2 separate regions of the Homo sapiens genome follow, and region 1 is linked to region 2. Evidence: promoter capture Hi-C in 16 types of primary human blood cells and fetal thymus (Javierre and others, 2016). All regions are on one chromosome and are shown on one strand. The core of a region is centred on a gene start or on the middle of the fragment in contact, and the rest is flanking DNA. Distances in the headings are between cores, read along the strand shown. Region 1 overlaps TOM1L2 (target of myb1 like 2 membrane trafficking protein). Region 2 holds the start of MED9 (mediator complex subunit 9).

What was found. The method cuts DNA at HindIII sites, captures the fragments that hold promoters and counts their contacts. A CHiCAGO score of 5 or more calls a contact.
Region 1: a fragment that was not itself captured here is called in contact with the fragment with the promoter of MED9 in region 2 in 1 of 17 cell types (naive B cells); the score reaches 6.0 in naive B cells.

What each region holds. Positions count from the first base shown.
Region 1 is chr17:17,921,630-17,928,609 of GRCh38, reverse strand. All of the region lies in intron 1 of TOM1L2 (target of myb1 like 2 membrane trafficking protein), which reads left to right. Among named protein-coding and RNA genes, the nearest start is that of TOM1L2, 47 kb to the left of the region's middle. RefSeq lists enhancers at 5,067-5,599, 5,600-6,133, 6,134-6,667 and a silencer at 6,761-6,980. The HindIII fragment of the contact is 826 bases long and covers 1,554-2,379 here.
Region 2 is chr17:17,475,116-17,481,554 of GRCh38, reverse strand. MED9 (mediator complex subunit 9) reads right to left here and starts at 4,555. Exons shown (of 2, transcript NM_018019.3): 1 at 4,290-4,555. The coding sequence starts at 4,513. RefSeq lists an enhancer at 4,452-4,551. The HindIII fragment of the contact is 9,122 bases long and covers 1-5,786 here.

The DNA of each region.
Region 1 (6,980 bases), core at 717-3,216, 450 kb before region 2:
TAATTCATCTCGTGTGTGCATGCTCACGCGGGGGCCGTCTGGGGCCCTCACTGAGAGGAGGCAACGAGCTGAGTGTTAAAGGGAGGGTGTCGCCTTCTGTGTTCTCTTTTGACCCTTTCCATTATGTGAGCATGCATTTTTACCTTGTGGTGATTAGTATGCACATAATATTTTATCCTGCCTGTTTTCCTCTTAGCATTCCTATGCCGATTTCCACTTAGCGACTAGGCTGAAGTATTTATCATTTTAAAAAGCCACGTAGCGTTTTTGCCTTATTGATGTACCCTCGTTGCTTAGCCATCTTCTCGTTTGTTGGGAGCAGCAGTGTTTTTCTCAATTATGCATCTTTGCAGAATCAGCTCTCCCCTTCCCCCTTATTTATTTCCTTAGGGGGCTATTGCCGGGTCAAAGTTATGAATGGTTTTATGCTGTCTCCTACTGATTTTTTTTGTTGTTACAGAAAATTTCAGACATATACAAAAGGAAAAAGATGACTATAATGAACCCCCACATACTCATCATTGAGCTTCTACAATTATCAATTCATGGCAGTTTTGGTTCATCCATAGCCCCACACACTTTTATCCTGGATTATTTTTCAGTAAATCCCAGACATCATATAATTTCATCTATGAATACCTAAGTATGCATTTCTAAAAGATAAGGAATCTTTTTAAAAGTATAGCTGACTGGGTGTGGTGGTTCATGCCTGTAATCCCAACACTTTGGGAGGCCTGGGTAACATAGTGAAACCCTGGCTGTACCACGAATACAAAAATTAGCCAGGTGTGGTGGCACATGCCTGTAGTCCCAGCTACTCAGGAGGCTGAGGGTGGGAGGCTCACTTGAGCCTGGAAGGTTGAGGCTGCAGTGAGCCAAGATTGTGCCGCTGCATTCCCAGCCTGAGTGACTGAGTGAGATCCTGTCTCAAAAAAAAAAAAAAAAAGTATAGCCAACAGCTTATTATCATATCTAAAATAAATTAATCATAATCCTTAATATCATAAAATATCTAGTCATCCAACTGACAGTTTAAGATTCCCTAGTGTTTTCTGTGGCCATTCTCACGAGGCCAAATGTTTATTTGCTCCACCATGTTCTTCAGGGAATGTTTCCCTTGATGTATCACATTGAGGTTGAGTTCTTTATCAAGAAAGGTCTGCATGCAGGTCCTGGCCTCAGAAAGAGATGGAGGGAAAGAAGAAGGGATAAAGAGAGGCCTCTCTCCACAGCCTCTGCAGCTGGCCTCATGTGGTTTGCGCCACATAGGGTGGTAGGTTCTCTCTGCCCGTTACTCACATGGTAAACCCAGCTGTGCTGCTTTATCCACATACCAGCTTGACTTGGTACAGTGTGCTGAAAATAATGTCGGGCCTGTCCCTTTGGACTCCACCCCCATTGAAGAATGCAGTTTCATGCTGTTGGTTTTTTTAGTGCTAAAGAAACTAGATAGATACTGTGTTTATTTTTCTACAGTAAAAATCCGAAAAGCTAGGAAAATGCCTATTCCCTGTTGGATTTTGATCTTATTTGCATGTTTCCCTTGGCAAGCTTTGTTTCGTATTATTCAAGGTGACCCACTTAGAACTACTGTTTAAAGTCACATTGTCATTAATAAGTTACACAACCTGTGTGTGATAAGTCTGTTAGCCCTGAATATTGTATAAACAGGAATACATGCTTGTGTTGGGGCTCTTCTTCATATTTAAATATGGTTACATTTCTTTTTCTTTTTCTTTCTTCCTTTTTTTTGAGACAGAGTCCCTCTCTGTCGCCCAGACAGGAGTGCAGTGGTGTGATCCTTGCTCACTGCAACCTCTGCCTCCCAGGTTCAAGCGATTCTTGTGCCTCAACCTCTCAAGTAGCTGGGATTACAGGCGTGTGCTACCAGGCCCAGCTAATTTTTGTATATTTTGTAAAGATGGAGTTTCACCATGTTGGCTGGTCTTGAACTCCTGAGCTCAAGCAATCCGCCCGCCTCGGCCTCCAAAACTGCTGGGATTACAGGTGTAATCCATCACACCAGGCCCAAATATGGTTACATTTAAATGTAATCTTCCCTGTTTGTTCTCACTGTTGATATTCGTGACCTTTCTATGTTGATGAATAGGAGTAATTTCCCAGATGATCTAGAACCCTATTGTATTTGGCTTTGGAATGTGAAACACGTGTACATTTATGTCCGCATCTCCCCTTGTGCCAGTCCAGACTGGCTCTCAGTTTGGTCCTCCTTAACTAGCTGGGTACCCTGGGTGACCTCCTTTGGGACAAGGGAGAGTTAGCAGGGAGGCCTGGTCAGAATAAAATGCCTTTTGAGAGATATTGGGGTTACCAGGCTTTTATCCTTAAGTCTGTATGTTCAGACTAAGTAATGAAGCTTACTTATGTTTAGGCCAGCTTGAAAGCTTGTACCTAGCTTTTTTTTTTTTTTTTCTCCAAGAGACAGAGTTTTACTCTGTCCCCCAGGCTAGAATACAGTGGTATGATCACAACTCACTGCGGCCTCGACATCCTGTGCTCAAGTGATCCTCTCACCTCAGCCTGTGGAGTAGCTGGGACTACAGGTGCGTGCCACTGAGCCCTGCTAATTTTTAAATTTTTGGTAGAGACAAGGTCTTGCTGTGTTACCCAGGCTGGTTTTGAATTCCTGGGCTCAAGTGGACTTCCTGCCTTGGCCTTCCAAAGTGCTGGGATTATGGGCATGAGGCACCACGACTAACCTATAGCCTATACCTAGCTTTTTTTTTTTTTTTTTGAGACAGGGTCTCACTGTGTCACCCAGGCTAGAGTACAGTGGCACCATCATAGCTTACTGCAGCCTCCATCTCCTGGGCTCAAGCGATCTTCCTACCTCAGCCTCCCAAGTAGCTGGGACTATAGGCATGCGTTACCACATCTGGCTAATTTTTTTTTTTTTTTTTTTTTTTGGTAGACACGAGGTGAGGTCGCTATGTTGGCCAGGCTGGTCTTGAACTCCTGAGCTCAAGAGATCCTCCCACCTCAGCGTGGCAAAGTGCTGGGATTAGAGGCATGAGCCACTGCGCCTGGGCTATACCTGGCTATTTTTGATGGAAGAATTAAATAACTGGCTTTTAGTTTTGGTCATTAGTTTGCCACTTTCTTTCTTAGTCTTTTGCTGTATAATATCCTCTTTCCTTCTTTTTGTAACAGTAATAACATAAAAAATTTTTAAAGTTTGCCTTTAAGCCAAATACTTCAACACACTGATTATTTTCACTTTTTCCCATTTATCTTCCAGGCATTATCCATATGCATGTTTTTTTAAAAATCAATTTTGTGTCTTTTTTTTCTTACATCATTACAAAATGTTTCTATATGGTTTTAAGAATTATTACTTATAATGGCTGTATTAGGTTGTTCTTGCATTGCCATAAAGAAATACCTGAGACTAGGTAATTTATAAAAGAGGTTTATTTGGCTCATGGTTTTGCAGGCTGTATAGGAAGCATAGTACTGGCAGCTGCTTCTGAGGAGGCTTCAGGAAGCTTTTACTCATGGCAGAAGGGGAAGGGAGAGCAGGCACCTCACATGGTGAAAACAGGAACAAAAAACAGAGAGAGAGAGTGGAGGAGGGAGTGCCACACACTTTTAACTGACCAGATATTGCAAGAATTATCACAAAGACATCATCAAGGCATGAAGGATCTGCCCACCAGGCCCTACCTCCAGCATTGGGAACTACAATTCAACATAAGATTTGGGTGGGGACAAATATCCAAACTATATCAATAGCTATATAATATTCAGTGGAATCAATATACTATATTTAATCATCACTTTTTTATTTTATATTTGAGAAGTTTTAAGAATTTTATTTTATTTTTGAGGCAGGGTCTCACTCTGTCCCTCAGGCTGGAGTGCAGTGATGTGATCACGGTTCGCTGCAGCCTCAGTCTTCCGTGCTGAAGCAATACTCCTATCTCAGCCTCTTGAGTAGCTGGGGACTACAGGCATGTACCACCATGCCTGGCTAATTTTGTATTTTTTGTAGAGGCAAGGTTTATGTTGCTCAGGCTGGTCTCAAACTCCTGGGCTTAAGTGATCCTCCTGCTTGAGCCACTGCACCCAGCTAAGGATTTTAAATAATACTACATTGAACACATTCCTAGTAGCTTTTCTCCCATTTTTCAACAGCTTTATTGAGATATAATTCATATGCCATACAATTCACCCATTTACAATGTACAAGTCAGTGGTTTTTAGTATAGTCACAGAGTTTTTTTTAAAAAACATTGTATTCACAGCGTTGTTCAGCCATTACCACAATCAGTTTTAGAACATTTTCATCATTCCGTACCCATTAGCAATCACTCCCCATTTCCCCCAGCCCTTCCAACCCCAGGCAATCACTAATCTATTTTCTGTCTCTATAGATTTGCCTATTCTGGACATTTTATATAAATGGAATCATACAATATGTAGTCATTTTTACCTTTGTTTTTGTTTTTGTTTGAGACAGAGTCTTGCTCTGTTGCCCATTCTGGAGTGCAGTGGCGCGATCTCGGCTCACTGCAACCTCTGCTCCTGGGTTCAAGTAATTCTCCTGCCTCAGCCTCCCGAGTAGCTGGGATTACAGGTGCATACCACCATGCCTGGCTAATTTTTGTATTTTTTTAGTGGAGACGGGGTTTCACCATGTTGGCCAGGCTGGTCTCAAACTCCTGACCTTATGATCTGCCCACCTCGACCTCCCAAAGTGCTGAGATTACAGGCGACAGCCACCGCGCCCGGCCTTTTTTTTTCTTTTTTAGACACAAGTTCTTGCTCTGTCTCTCAGACTGGAGTGTCTCCCAGCCTCCAGTTCCTGGGCTTAAGTGATCCTCTTGCCTCCCAAGTATCTTTTTTACCATTTTAAAGATGTGTATAACATAAAATCTACAATTTTAACTTTTTTCTTTTGAGATGGGGTCTCACCCTCTTGCCCAGGCTGGAGTGCAGTGGTGCGATCACGACTCACTGTAGCCTTGACCTCCTAGCCTCAAGTGATCCTCCTGCCTCAGGCTCTGGAGTAGGTGAAACTACAGATGCTCACCACTGCGCCCAGCTAATTAAAAAAAAATTTTTTTTTGTAGAGACAGGGTCTCCCTATGTTGCCCAGGCTTAAAAATACATGTTAATACAAGTGTTGAAGTTTTACCATGGGTGTTTGTTGTTGTTGTTGTTGTTGTTGTTTTGTTGTTGTTGTTTGAGATGGAGTTTCACTCTTGTCGCCCAGACTGGAATGCAGTGGCGCGATCTCGGCTCACTGCAACCTCCACCTCCCGGGTTCAAGTGATTCTCCTGCCTCAGCCTCCCAAATAGCTGGGATTACAGGCACCCACCACCACGCCTGGCTAATTTTTTTGTATGTTTAGTAGAGACCAGGATTTCATCAAGTTGGCCAGGCTGGTCTTGAACTCTTGATCTCAGGCGATCCGCCTGCCTTGGCCTTCCAAAGTGCTGGGATTACAGGCGTGAGCCACTGCGCCCAGCCAACACTGTGGCTTTAATGAGCACAGCAGGTATGAGCCCTGGGAAACTTCTGGGAGTCTTTCTCCTGGTGTGGAATTTTGTAATCACTCTTTGAGGCCTTTTTATAGCCTTGTTCCTGGTGATGCCTGCGGTCCCTGGTTGGCCTCACAGGCTAGTTGGTGCCTGGCCAACAGATTGCAGCCTTGTCCTGGTCCTCTCTGCTCACACTCCAGGAGGCAGTTAAGGTGGCCACTTCACTATTCCACCTGGAGGCTGCAATAAAAGCATTGGAGACAGTCACCCTCCCCTTCTGCTTCCCCGCTGGAATTCCGTCTTTCCTGAGATGCAGTCCACAGAATACACAAGTTAAGAATTGTGGTTCATATTTATTGCGCCCTCACTATGTTCCAGGTTCCCTGTTTCGTGTCTTATATCACTAACTTATTTGATCTTAACCACACCCTGTGAGGAGGTACAATTGTTTTGCCCGTTTTATGGATGAAATTCAGAGAGCGTGAGAAATGTGTCCTAGGTCAGAGAGAGCCAAGACTGACCCCCAGTCCCCAGATTCAAAGCCATGACCTTGACCAACATGCTGTCCTGTCTCCTTTTCTCACTGAGCAGTTGTGATAACCTGCCCCCTGCTTCCTGCCTGCAGTCTCTCCACTCCACTACAGCCCCCATGCTGTTACCAGAGCGATCTGTCTCAGACATAAATATTCTTGTCACTCCTGTTGAAAAGCCCCATGTTGCCTCCTGTGGAAAGCCCAGACTCCTTAGAGAAAATGAAAGGACACTCCAGAGCTGGCCTCCTCTCACCGCTCCCCTTCACCGAGGCCCTGGCCCTGGGAGGCTGTTTGCATAGCCTATGATGTTCCTCTCTCTTCAAATTCCTGCTCTTTCCTTGTACCAGGCCCATTTCTTAGCTTTCACAGTCCCCTCTGCTCCCCTGTTCAGCCTCAGGTCTGTGCCCTGTGTCCTGGATGGCTGGCTGCAGGTCTTTCCTGGGGAGTGCTTTCAGTGTAGGGGCTCCATCTTACTTCTTTCCATCCCAGTCTGGCAGGGAGAGGCCTCACAGTTGAAGTTTTTAAATTGAGCTGGGAAGTCTTTGGATAATCCTTCCCAAGGAGTGGCATTCACATCTCTGGGATGTGTCTCTGTCATCGGGAGAAGCTCAAAAAAAAGGCTGGTGACAGTGTGGCACACTGTGAAATTCTCAGGCACACCTCCTCTCTTCTCTGAGAGTGCTGGTGGTGAATGGTGGGCACGAGGGCGAGGGGAACAGCCCCTGGGAGGCGCTCTGGGGAAGAAGAAATTGGCAGCAAAGCAGACTGCACGAAGAGGCCGAGAGGAAGACAGGACAGGTGAATCCCACCCCCCCACCCCGCCCCCACTTTCCCTTATCTGCTCTGCTTTAAGCAGAAACTGTAACCTGATCACCAGGTCACAGAGAAACTTTGATCCTCCCAGCCACCCCCACCTGTCTGACATTAGAGCACAGCCTGCTA
Region 2 (6,439 bases), core at 3,306-5,805:
GTATAAATTTTTGAAATGACATTCATATGTAATTCCCAGAAGGAACTTAGGAAAGTATTAACAGCAGTTACTACAGGTGAGGGGACTTGGGGGAAGGAACACATTTTCCATTTTACGTTTCTCTGTACTTCTAAACTTGCAGTTGTTACTTTTATTAAATAATTTTTCAAAAACTCTGAATTCTTTATGAGAACAAGAAAGGCTAAATTCACTACTTCAGATTTTACCTCCTTACTCACCCCTGTGCAAGAAGTAAACAAAGAATAAAAGGATCATTGGGGAAGTTATAGGAAAGGAAGGGACCCAGGGCCAGAGAGCGCCACCTGGGTGGACCGGACATGGTCCCAGCCCTCATCTCCACCCGCCAGTACTGTGTCTTGACTGGCTTCCAGCCTGACAGTTTCACTAGCTCCCCATCCCTCAGAAGACACCTGCACTCTGTTTCCTGGCTCTTCCCTCCTCCCCAGCCACCTCTTCCTGCCTTGGATGTATGCTCAACACCACCAAGCTAGAAGCTGACTCCCATGAGTAGATGCTATTTCTTGGCTTCGTGTCCTTACATGTTTTTCCTATACCAACATTCCTCCTGCCTCCCTTTCCTAATTGAAGACTCATTGTTGGCATCACTCTTACCAAGCCTTCTGACTCCCCCAGGCTTCACGAGGTCTCCTCTCCCTTCCTCCTCTGCCCTTATTCCTCCCTCATTTGCCTATAAACTCAAAGACACGCCTATACTGAAGGTTTGCAGGTTGGATCCTAGCCTCTTCTCATGTTTACAGCTGCAGAACCACTCCATTCCTTTGTGGCTACTGTTTCCTCCACGTGGCTTTTTCTGCTCTTCTGTCTTGTCTTTCTCTTTTTTCCTCTCTCTCTCTGTCTCCTCTCTTTCTTTCTTTCTTCTTTGAGACAGAGTCTATGTCACCCAGGCTGAAGTGTAGCAGTGCGATCATGGCTCACCGTAGCCTCAGCTCCCTGGGTTCAAGCTATCCTCCCATCTCAGCCTGCCCAGGTGCTGGGCTTGCAGACAGACATGAGGCACCGCGCCTGACCCGTGTCTTTCTTACCAGGGGGTTTCTTCCTATGCTTAGTGACCTTGGCCATCCACTCATATATTTAAGAATAAAACACTAAAAGGCTTAGTGGAAGCTCTGCAAATGAGTGATGCTTGTTCATTTTCTCAGAATTAATTGACTAGGCTTTTTTTTTTTCCAATGTCTTTTCTCTTAATTGGTCACGCACCATAGAGAGGGCACTTCCACTCTCTTTGGCTGCCAATCTAGAAGCCAGGTGGGGGAAGGCTCGGGTGGTGTCTCTCTTCAGACTGTGAACTTTCTCTTAATCCCTCTTTTCAGTATGGCTCCCCCTACCTACCCCTGCAGTGTGCCTGGTGTCCCACAGTCAAGGTACTCTCTGGCTTATTCCTTCCTAAGAATAAATCTCGGGAGAGTAACCTTTTAACCATCTGCCAAGTTGGAAGAAGGGTAGTCACCCGGCCGCTTGGAGGGGATGGGAGGTGGGACAGGACTGTGGGGACCTGCTTCTTAAACAGACTTCCAAGTAATCTTCCTGTTCTTAGACCCACCTTCACCCCTATTTCCAGGGGGTCCTTGCACTAGAGTTCCTGAGATCTGGGGATAGGCCATGGTTAACAAACCAGGTGCTTAGGAGTTGGTAGATGAATTAGCCCTGGTCATCCACTTTGTGGCAATCATCTCCTGTCCTATTCTTTTTGGTTTTATGCTTTTTATTTTTGACACAGGGTCTCATTCTGTCACCCATGCTAGAATGCAGTGGCATGATCTGGGTTCAAGTGATCCTCCCACTTCAGCCTCCCAAGTAGCCAGGACTGCAGGCACACACCACCATGCCTGGCTAATTTTTTTTGTATTTTTTGTAGGGACGGGGTTTTGCCATGTTGCCCAGGCTGGTCTTGAACTCCCAGGCTCAAGCGACCGGCTCGCCTCAGCCTCCTAAAGTGTTGGGATTACAGGCATGAACCACCATGTCTGAAGGTTTTATGCTTTTTTTTTTTTTTAAACTCCCTTCTCTGTCCTTTTAGATGGAACAGAGACAAGCACATGTGATCAACCCACTATGTTTCACAGGTACACTCCTGAGTACATCTCCCAACAATCCTATGACATAAGCATTCCCATTTCACAAGAGAAAAACAGGCTCAGAGAAGCTAAGCTACTTGCCAAGGTCACCCAGTCAGCACATTATAGAGCTATGACATAATCTGAACCTCTCTTTTGAGGTCCACTATGGACATATTAGAGATAAGAAGATTATGGCCTAGAAAGGTTAGGCATTTATATCAAGATTAGAAGGCAAGAAAATGTCAGTACACAGATTTGAACACAGGGCTGTCTAACTTCAAAGCCTGTTCTCTCTAGTATAACTTACTACTACATCTTTTAAGGCCAACCCAACCCAGCTGCTCTACCAGGGCTCAAGAATATACTCTTGGGGAGTTCAAGAGCTGTCCTTGTGAATGTGTACATTTTGTGTTTTCATTTTTCCACATTTTTCTTAAAACCAGTAAACTAGGGTTAATCAGAATAAACCCTTTATAATCCAGCACTGCCCTAGGATTACAGGGGCTCCATATGTATTTCTGTCTATGATCATTATCACAGGCTCACGAAAACTGAATAGGCTGCCTTATCCTATAAGCATTACTTTTTTTTTTTTTTTGAGGCAGAGTCTTGCTCTTGTTGCCCAGGCTGGAGTGCAATGGCATGATCTCGGCTCACTGCAACCTCCACCTCCCGGGTTCAAGTGATTCTCCTGCCTCAGCCTCCTGAGTAGCTGGGATTACAGGCAGCCGCCACCACACCCGGCTAATTTTTGTGTTTTTAGTAGAGATGGGGTTTTGCCATGTCGACGAGGCTGGTCTCAAACTCTGACCTCGTGATCCGCCCGCCTTGGCCTCCCAAAGTGCTGGGATTACAGGCATGAGACACCATGCCTGGCCCCTATAAACAGTATTTAAACACCAAGTGAAACCAAATGAAGCCAGGGTCTAATGTGAGAACAAAGCCTTTGTAGTTATTTGAAAAGTGGCAGAAGAGCATCAGGTCATCCCACAGCAAGTGAATCTAATTTGCTTAAACTCAAAAGTGGGTGGGCCACTAACAGTCAAGACCTTCACGTTGTAACAATTCCATTTCAGTAAAACAGTGAAGAGCACATTCATGTTCACCTGAATGTTACTGGAATCGTAATTTTCTTTTAATTTACTTTGTTTTGGTCTTTAATGGTTGAGTAAGAGTTACAAGCCTAGGGGTTTACACCTAGTATCACGTGGATATACAGTGAAGTAACATAATGAAAATAATTTACAGCCTGGGCAACATGGTGAAACTCCATCTCTACAAAAAATACAAAAATTCGCTGGGTGCCATGGCTCATGCCTGTGGTTCCGGTTACTTGGGAGGATGAGGTGGGAGGATGGCTTGAGGCCAGGAGGTTGAGGCTGCAGTGAGCCGAGATCACGCCACTGTACTCCAGTCTGGGTGACAGAGCGAGACCCTCTCTCAAAAAAAATAATAATTTAGGCAAACATAAGGATCAGTGAGACTTTTGTGTTTTTGTTTTTGGTTTTTCCTCTACAGAGTCACTTTGAAAACTCAGGCTACCCTGAAGGCTGGCCAAAAGGATGACAACAATTATTTCCTTTGGTACTGTTAGAACAAAGTCAGTACAAGTGGGTCTAATCATCTGAGGCAACTTCTGTGTTTCTGCTTAGTCTAATGTTTCCCATCGCCACCACTCCCGTCTCAATCTTTTTGAATTGTGGGTTATTCCCAATCATGTCTTTTTTTCCTTCTATCTAAACCTTTGGGGGTGAAAAGTTGGCCCCTTTTACTGCGTCCATCCCGTAGCACTTGGCACAGGGAAGATGATGCTTATCTGTTGAGTTTGCTGAACTAAGGAACTAAAGTGAGTATTACCAACATTAAAGGTGAGAAAACTGAGGCTTAAAGAGATTTAATTTGCTCAAGATCGCTGGGATGAACATTTGAGCCGCTGGACAAGAGTCTGCATTTAGTCTCTAAGCTGGCTTCATTCTTAAGGATATCGCACCTCTCGAGGCTCAAATCGTTTGCTTAACTCATGGAATGTCTCTGTGGTCTTGGGAAAGGCCTCTTCCCGCTCTGGGTCTGAGTTTCCCCATCTGTGAAACGGGGGCGTGCCCCAGAGCGCCAAGGCCTCTTGCAGCTCTGAAACGGCTGAGAGGAGAAGCTGGAGGGAGTATGGGGCCTGGTCCTCTCCTAGGTTCTTACCATTTGATGATGTTGTGAACCAAAGGTAAAAAGGAGTAGTTCTCTTCCTCCCTCGCGCGGGCAGGTGACTGAGGCCGTGGCGCCGGCGACTGCTGCGGTTGAGGCGCAGGGACCGGCGGCGGCTGAGGAGGCGGCAGCGGCTTGGTGTCAGGCAGCGGCTGGTCGGACGTTGGCGGCAATACATCCTCCGCCTGTCGCCCGGCTGCCACCCCAGCAGAGGCCATGGCTCCGGGGGTAGGTTAGCCAGAGGTCGGGTCGCCAAAAGCGTCGCGCACTCTACACGTCACCACCGCGCGCCCTGCAGGGGCGGGGTGTGGAGGAAGGCTCTGAGCGTGCGCACTGGGCAGTCGGCGGGAAAAGGCGCGGAGGCGGGGGTGGGGAGGCTGTTGCTAGGCAACGGGCCGTGGGTGGGTCTGGGGTGCCTGGATTTGGATTGTGAGTCAAGATTGCTAAATTATTAAATAGTGAGAAATAGGGGTTTATTTCAGAAATAACAATCTTTTTTTTTTTTTTGAGACGGAATTTCGCTCTTGTTGCCCAGGCTGGAGTGCAGTGGCGCGATCTCGGCTCACCGCAACCTCCGCCTCCCGGGTTCAAGCGATTCTCCTGCCTCAGCCTCCCTAGTAGCTGGGATTACAGGCATGCACCACCACGCCCGGCTAATTTTATATTTTTAGTAGAGACGGGGTTTCTCCATGTTGATCAGGCTGGTCTCGAACTCCCCACCTCAGGTGATCCGCCCGTCTCGGCCTCCCAAAGTGCTGGGATTACAGGCGTGAGCCACTGCACCCGGCCAGAAATAACAATCTTCTTATTCCTATTCACACGATGAAGAGGGCCCCAAAGCCACAAACACAGGAAGCCTTGAGATTAGTAAGGTGCAGCCTGGCCCAGTGCACCCAAGTCTGGAGAGGAGCCACTGGACCTGTGGGAGGCGTAGACAGCACTTACCTGCTGGGTGAGGCACCAAACCCGGCCCAGCCCACAGTGCAAGACATCGAGACCTCGAGTTTAGCCCTAAGGACGCAGAGGCAAAGGGATTGCGGTCCCTTCAATGCTGCAAGGTTGCTTAGAAAGAGTCTAATAATTCAACTCAACACACATTTAGTATGCACCTGCTGGATGGCCACCTGTATGTGTGGTTGCAGGCAGGCTGTCCTTGCTTTCAGTACAAGGTAGAGGGGATTGGTGCCAGGAGTAAATATCATATCCTGGAAGAACGACAAGGTCAGGTACTCTCCATACCTTCGGGCCAGTTCCCCAAGCCCCTAGGTCCCAGTTTCCTCACCCCTAAAATCATATTTAGTTCAGATTCATGGCACAGCCTAAACTGCATTCTAACTTCACATGCGTGGCTGACCCCAAAAGGTCTTGTTGGCATGAGGACTCCCTAGGATCATAGGCCAAAGATGGGTTTATGGTTATGCTTCTCAAAACAAGTTTGATATGAGGGCTGTGTAGTAATTTTCCGGGCAATGGGGACACCCACCCCAAGCTTAGCTAGTGAGTAGAAGACATGAGTGGGGAAAGCTGTCAACTGGTGAGCCCATTCTGCTGTAATCCACCATCATGGGCAGTACAGAGAGGCGAGGAGGTCCACATCCACATAGCATGATGAACAGGAGCCTTAAGAGCAAGGTGGCCAGGGAAAGGATCAATGCTGATATTTTCAGGCACATTGGGAGGGCTGTGCGGAGGCAGATCCTTGGGGAGTAGGACCATAGATGGAAGTGCTGTTGGAGGGTGCGCTGTACAGGTTCTGTAGTAAAGGGCCTCAGCACAGCTCTCTGCAGCAAGAGCTGCCCACGGTGCCCCAGAGAGAGAGCAAAGGGAGGGAGTGGGTTGCGGAGTTTTCTTCCTTCTAACCATTGACCTCTCCAACTAAGGGAAAGTTCAAGAGTTCTGGTTGAGCATGGAGGAGAAAAAGGCCAGATGTGCTTGAAGAGACTGTATACCCTTGGAGTCATCTGGGGAAAGATGATATAGTAATAGTAATAATAATAGTAATTACCACAACTACCATGGAGTAAAAGTAGATACAGGGAACAGAGTTACAGTCACTGTCTCAATCCACAGACAGAGGTCTAGAAGATGGATGTCAGGATCCCCATTTTCTAGATGAGAAAACCAAGACTTACAATGGTTAAGAT